Linked DNA regions of Homo sapiens: region 1 is linked to region 2. Evidence: promoter capture Hi-C in 16 types of primary human blood cells and fetal thymus (Javierre and others, 2016). All regions are on one chromosome and are shown on one strand. Each heading gives the region's core, a stretch centred on a gene start or on the middle of the fragment in contact. The rest is flanking DNA. Distances are from core to core; before and after follow the strand shown. Region 1 overlaps HERC3 (HECT and RLD domain containing E3 ubiquitin protein ligase 3). Region 2 holds the start of AFF1 (ALF transcription elongation factor 1).

Region 1 (3,468 bases), core at 240-2,739, 1.7 Mb after region 2:
GAAGGGTTTAACATTTTCTTGACCCTGTGTAATGTGACAGTGTTTTTGGCTTTCAGCCTCACATCAGTGCTATCCACTGTGATTTTTATTTTTTATGGGTTGTCATCTCATGAATCCACAGATTTAATTGCTTTTCCATTGTATCTATAGCTTCATTATGTACTCTGGATATTACTTTAGCTCTCTCCAGGGGAGGCCTCACATACAGATCAGCAGATTTCCTGTTCCATATTTTGGATGTACCCGCTTGTTGATTCATTAACATTGAACTCACAGCCAACACTATAACTCATGCATGAAAGAAACTTACCTAATACACATTTTTTTCTCTGTAAGGCACATCACAACCTTCTTGCACCTAAGAACACTAGAAGGTAGGAGAGATAAGACAAATTTATGAAATACTAAAAACGAAAAAATCCATTAATGTGGATAATAGCAATTGAGCAAGTTGGGAAAAATAAATTATTTCTAGATTATGTGAGCTTGCTGGTCTATTAGTGTATCATTAGACCACCAACCACCACCACCACTACCCTGCCAGTTTTTCATTTTATTTCTACTTCCCTCTCCACAATATTTGTAGTTAATTCAAAGAATAACATTTAATCTTAATACTTTTTTAGTGTAGAGTCTAGACAAGGAATAAAAATCTTGGGAAGAAGCAGAACTTTCTGTGTAAGACAGCAAATTGAGATTCAGTTTTATATTTTATTTTGGGCCTTTTCATGCCTTTCCTGAAAGCCTCAAGAGTTCAAAGCATACCTCAGGATTACAATAAGGCAGTTTTAAAATTGGTATATACCAATTAAGGCCATTGAGTTAAATCCAAAGTACTGTAATTGTTGTCAAGAGAGGTTGAAAGTACGAGCTTCCTCTGTGTTGTAATCTTTAATTTGTAGCCATTTGGGCATGCTTTTATCTTGGGAGAAAAGAGTTTGTCATTTTAAAAGCTGACTTTGCATAGAAGAGCCAATTAGCTGTCTCCTTCATATGTTGACAGTTCTCTCCTGTAGATTGGCTGATATATTCAGCTTTGATGTGTTCGCCTAGTATTATAATTCAAAGTAAGTCTTCACCATTTCTGTTAGAATCCATCCTCTTTTCATTAGGATGAAATGAATGTACCAATGAAAAGATTAGGGAAGACACCTTTGAAGTCTGCAATCTTGTCTTGAAATCCTGATATTTTGACCTGTAGGACCTAGAACAGTGATTCTTAATATGGAGAGACTAGCATGTTTAAGAAGTATGATTAGAAAAGGATATTCAGGGGCCGGGCGCGGTGGCTTACGCCTGTAATCCCAGCACTTTGGGAGGCCGAGGCGGGCGGATCACGAGGTCAGGAGATCGAGACCATCCCGGCTAAAACGGTGAAACCCCGTCTCTACTAAAAATACAAAAAATTAGCCGGGCGTAGTGGCGGGCGCCTGTAGTCCCAGCTACTTGGGAGGCTGAGGCAGGAGAATGGCGTGAACCCGGGAGGCGGAGCTTGCAGTGAGCCGAGATCCCGCCACTGCACTCCAGCCTGGGCGACAGAGCGAGACTCCGTCTCAAAAAAAAAAAAAAAAAAGAAAAGGATATTCAGAATTATAATTAAAATGTATATTTGGAAACCGGCTGGGCTCCGTGGCTCACACCTGTGATCCAAGCACTTTGGGAGGCCAAGGCGGGCTAATTACTTGAGGTCAGGAGTTCAAGACCAGCCTGCCCAACATGGCGAAACCCTGTCTCTACTAAAATACCAAAAAAATAGTGGGGTGTGGTGGCACACGCCTGTAATCCCAGCTACTTGAGAGACTGAGGCAGGAGAATTACTTGAACCTGTGAGGCGTAGGTTGCAGTGAGCTGAGATTGCGCCACTGCACTCCAGCCTGGGAGACAGAGCGAGACTTGGTCTCCAAAAAAAAAAAAAAAAAAAAAAAAGTATGTTTGGAAACTGAAATGTAATCTGAATGTCCTTAAGACCAATCTTCTGCATTGCTTGTTTGTTTTTAAGATGGGTCTCGCTCTATTACCCAGGCTGGAGTGCAGCAGTGCGATCACAGCTCACTGAAACCTTGACCTCCTAGGCTCAAACGATCCTCTCACCCCAGCACCCCAAGTAGCTGGGACTACAGGTGTGTCCTACCACACTTGGCTGATTTTATTTTATTTTTTGTGGAGATAAGGTCTCACTGTGTTGCCCAGGCTGGTCTCAAACTCCTGGGCTTAAGCTGTCCTCTCACCTTGGCCTCCCAAAGTGTTAGGATCACAGGTGTGAGCCACTGTGCCTGGTCACTGTTTTCTTTCATATCCAGATAAAGTGATTCAAACCCAAGGCGATGCTGATTAGAGATTTAGCGTCTTTCTCAAATTTCTAAGAATTTCCGAAGGGAAGAAGAATGTTTAGGTTCTCTTATCATGCCTCATCCAAAACTCTTGCTCAGTTGTCAGTCTTCAGGAGGGGCTCTGAGGGCTTATTTTCAAGGTTCTTTTTATTCATGCTTGGCAAAATACAGTTATTGTAAGGGTGTTGTGTCTTAACTTTGATAGAAGGTTTGGGATTCTCAAAAGTAGTTACAGAACAGGCAACAAGTTCAAACTTGAGTGTTAGACACCACTGTTCTCAAAATTCATCTGCTGTTCTCTGCCACGGAGAATCTACTGTTTACTGGCCAGGTTCCAAACTTGCAGCCATATTACAGGCTTCAATCGCTTTCTCTTTTTTTTTTTTTTTTTTTTGAGGTGGAGTTTTGCTCTTGTTGCCCAGGCTGGAGTGCAGTGGCGCCATCTTGGCTCACTGCAACCTCTGCCTCCTGGGTTCAAGCGATTCTTGTGCCTCAGCCTCCCGAGTAGCTGGGATTATGGGCACCCGCCACCACGCCCCACTAATTTTTGTATTTTTAGTAGAGATGCGGTTTCACCATGTTGGTCAGGCTGGTCTCGAACTCCTTCCTCAGGTGATCCATCTGCCTCAGCCTCCCAAAGTGCTGGGATTACAGGTGTGAGCCACCATGCCCGGCCAATCGCTCTCTCTTAATTTGCTATCTTAAATAGGAGCATCTACTGTTTTATAAGGCATGCTTGGGATTTCCCCCGTCTCCTTTCGTCTCTAAATCTTGGACCTTTCTTTCAAAACCAGAGAGGTGCATGGGGTATTTTCCTTGACAGAAGATCCACCCACTTAAGATTTCCAACTTTATCAATAGTCAGAACTTTTGAAGTTATAATATTTCATTTCTGATCAAAGCATTAGATAAAGCTTCCCCTCTTATGTCTTTGTAAGCAAAAATAATATATTGAAATAATTGATACCTTTCCCATATTAAACTCTAGGGGTTGTTCCCTCCTCCTTTCTGTTGTAGAAAAAATACTTTTGTGCCTATTATGTTGGTAATAACAATTCTCACAATTAAACTCAAGAAAGCCTTGTTGGCTGATGTGGACCTGCAGAGGCAGTAGACATGTAGCAAGAGAAAGGAAATT
Region 2 (3,689 bases), core at 1,179-3,678:
GGGCTGTTTAGGTGCTCTGAGAATACATCCTGTGAGCTTCTATGAGTCCCAGGGGTTTAACTAATTTGTTTTTAAATTTTAAGTAAAATCATGGCTGAAAATTGTCAGGTAACATCCCAGGAGCCCTCATATGAAGAAGCACCTAAAAAGTCCCATCATCATATTTAAAAGGGAGATTTATTTGGGGGGGTGGGGGGGTTCTGTTAAAAAAAAAAAAAAGCACCGATGTCAGAAACATGCTTCATCTTATTAGAAACATAATCTGAAATGTATGAGATTAGGTTGTCAAAATTAAGAAAGTGCTGGAATTTCATTGAGTGTGCTAAAAATGTAATTTAAGAATTCTTGTAAGGAAGATGATGGAGGAAAGTGTAGCTAACAAAGTTAAATATCTGCAACTCCATTACATAATTACTCTCCTTTTGTTTATGTCTGAAATTTAAAAAGTAGATATAAAAAATTTTTTAAAGTAGATATAGTGTAATCACTTTTTAAAATAGCCTTCTTATTGACTATTTATATAAGATGACCAGCAGAAGAGAGAGAAAGGCAACTTAAAAAATAATAATAACTCACTGGCATGGCTATCCTTTTTTATTCATTATCAGAAAATTAATTTGATTTAGTCTTTTTAAATAGCCAGTCACCATTCACGAAATAAATCAACAGAAGTGTGTACTGGAATTATTTACTTGCTTGTTTCTGCCACCACACTGGAATGTCATGAAAATAGGAGCTCTGTCTTTGTCATCAATATGGCTCGTCACCTAGCACATTGCCTTAAGAATATTGATATAAATGGAATGACTTACTCTCTGAACCAAAGCTACATCATCTTCAACAAAATTTTTGCAAAATTACAATCTTCAATTCCAAAGGCAGGAAAATAAAATGATCACACTTCCACTGTCAACATCATTTACTAAGTTGACCACAGTTTGAAGAGCCCTATAGGAGATACTATGGGATGACACAAAAAGAACACAAAAAAGGAAAACATTTTAGATAGAAGTGGTAAAAGTTTTCAGATTATAAAATATTACCATGCTAATATATATTTCACAATGAAATGTATTCATTATATAGCAAAAACGTTAAAATACTTGTTATTGATTAGAATAGAGATCAGTCTCTGTTAGAAACCTTTAAAAGGTGTACAAACACTTTGTAAGAGATGACTCCTGTCCCATCCTGCTCAGGGATGACCAGAACTTTCATCTTAGATAGATACACCACCAGGTTTCATCAGGGACACCTTAATTATTTTAGCTGTCTAGGTAAACCAATCTCCCGATGGGAGGATATGGAGTAGGGCGAAGAGTTATATTTTGGAAAACAATCCATGGGAAATTAAGTCAAGTAGCCAAAGGTTTAATTTGGAAATGCAAATATCCATCAATTAGGTTTTCAATTATGTGGACAATAAAAGAGTTGAGCAGAGCAGTAGAGACAAACAAAATTAAAAAGAGAAAAGGCAGAGAAGGCAGGGAGGGGCTTATTTTCACACATTATACCAATTTACATTACACATCATATTAAATTTAAGTAAGGCGCTTTTCTTCATCCAAATAATTTCACCCATTTTAAACCATAAAATACTGTCGGCGAAATCTCATCTGGGCCATTTGATGTAATCTTTCTGCGTCCCTTTCAGGAAGGAAGGTGCGACAACACAATGAAGACAGCCTGTTGCTTTCCTTGGTATGTTTACAGCAGGAATCGGGCAGCGACTTAACTAGACATAAGTTTCCCCTTCTTCCCATGGGTCTATTTGCCAAAGCCCCCTGCACCTATTAGAATTTTCTGAGGTTGGGCTGGTGGAGAGCAGAAACCCGGAGGCTAGATTCAGGAGACCTGGTTTCCCATGCCACTTAGTAGCCTGTGACATTGAGCACAATACTTACTTTTCGGCGCTTCCGTTTCATTATTTGGGAAATGGGAACAATATATCTGTTTTATAAGATTGTTGTGAAGATGAAACAGGCCTGTGTGTGAAAGGCCTTTTCTAAATTGTAAAGCGCTCCCCAGATGTTAGTTATTATCTCCTTTAAAGGGCACAGAATCTGTTTCAATATTATAGGAGGTTGCAAAAAGGCTCCTTGACACTTTTTGCTCAGAACTTGACCCTGAGCTTAATCTCGCCGTAAAGTGAAAGGGTTCTTGCGCCCCCACAGCAGCCCGGGGCAGGGTCACCCTCGCGACCGGGGCGGTCATTGCCGTATTCCGTCCTGAGCTGCCGCTCCCCCACGATCCTCCCACCAATCCCGGGAGGGCCGCGACGTCCCTTGCCGCTTGGGTGGCGCCAGCTAGAGGGCGCGGGCCGGGGCGGAACCCGGTACCGCAGCTCGGGAGGTGGGGGTGGGGGCGGGGCCTCGCGCGGAGGGCGTGGCCTCGGGGCGTCCCGGGCAGCCGGCGTGCTGAGCTTGCCAGCCAGCTAGCGAGCGACGGGCGCGCGCGGCCCCTGCGCACTCGGCCGCCGCCTGCGCGCGTTGCGGCCGCAGCTGCACCTTTGCCTCCGCGGTTCCGCAGCCGAGCCCCGGGAGGAGGCGCTCCCCTGCGTCGTCCGCACTTGCGCCCTTTCCCACCGCAACAGGTCAGGGGAGGGCGGAGGTGACGAGGGCGCCCGACCCGGGACTAGAGGACGGAAGGGTCTGGAAGGTGAGCGCAGCCCTGCGCCACCCAGGGCTGGGGGTCGATCCGCCCGGCCCCCGACGCCGCCGCCGCGGACTTCTCGGAAGCCGAGGCTCTCCCCGCCTCTCTGCCGGCTTCCCAGCACGCTGACTCAAGTCGCTGGCGTTCCCACTTTTCCGGTGGGAGCCCTCGGGGAGAACGGGCTAGGGCTCAGAGCTCTCACCGCCCTACTTGCGATCCCGCGGCAGGTAGCGCGTAGAAAAACAGGGGACGGGGACATGGGAAGAGACCCATGCTCCTCCCTCACGCGCAGCCCCCAAGTCAGACGTTTGCCTGTGCACCCCGCGTTTTGCGGAGAGCTGTCCCGTTGTTGGGACCTGCTACTTGAGTTGCGTAATGAGTCCCAGAAGTTTCTCGGGGGGAGGGGGCGGGGAAAAGTGGGGTTCTTCTCTCCTGCACCCCGGGACCCTTCCCTGTGCCTGTCGTGGAGAGAGATGAGGGCTTCCCGCCGCGTCTCGCTGAGAGCAGGAGGGAGGCGTGTGTCGGTGGTCCGTAGCCTCCGGGGAGGAGTTGGAGCCACCTTCTGAGACTTAACTTCAGGGACAGAGGGAGAGGCGTCTTTAGTATGGGACTGGTTAATTTCTCTTGATAATGCTTTTTTCCCTCGGGTGTCCCATCCTCTGTGGCCGTCGCAACCCCACCCTCCGACGGTGCGAGCGCCGGAGCCAGCGAATGAGAGGGGAGAGAAGGTGGAGAGTGTGAATCACACGTTACCTTAGTGTAATGGTAGTTGCATTAATGGAGCTGCGACGGGCCTGCGGGCGGTTCGATACCGTCCGGCTAGTTTTCTCTTCCCGGAGCTTCTCCACCACCAGCACCCGCAAATTGTTATGCAGATCATCCCGGGAAGGCACTTGGCTTTGGAGGTGGAGATGTGTCCGAATCTCCCTTGAACCAGTCTCTGTTAGGGGGAAAGGCCTTGCAGCCAAGTGATTTGTTTTAAGGGTGGAGCCGGAGATAATTTTAAACACCCTCCCCCTTGGTGCACGTTGCGGGGT

What was found. The method cuts DNA at HindIII sites, captures the fragments that hold promoters and counts their contacts. A CHiCAGO score of 5 or more calls a contact.
Region 1: a fragment that was not itself captured here is called in contact with the fragment with the promoter of AFF1 in region 2 in 1 of 17 cell types (non-activated CD4 T cells); the score reaches 7.2 in non-activated CD4 T cells.

Annotation. Positions count from the first base shown.
Region 1 is chr4:88,600,501-88,603,968 of GRCh38, forward strand. The region is part of intron 2 of HERC3 (HECT and RLD domain containing E3 ubiquitin protein ligase 3); the gene reads left to right. Among named protein-coding and RNA genes, the nearest start is that of HERC3, 9.8 kb to the left of the region's middle. RefSeq lists an enhancer at 611-1,301. The HindIII fragment of the contact is 3,506 bases long and covers 1-3,242 here.
Region 2 is chr4:86,932,583-86,936,271 of GRCh38, forward strand. It overlaps AFF1 (ALF transcription elongation factor 1), which reads left to right and starts at 2,429. Exons shown (of 21, transcript NM_001166693.3): 1 at 2,429-2,658. AFF1-AS1 (AFF1 antisense RNA 1) reads right to left here and starts at 2,268. Exons shown (of 3, transcript NR_038841.1): 1 at 1,905-2,268; 2 at 813-960. It also overlaps a transcript of C4orf36 not described here. RefSeq lists silencers at 2,134-2,883, 3,354-3,492 and enhancers at 2,805-3,346, 3,347-3,689. The HindIII fragment of the contact is 7,488 bases long and covers 1-3,689 here.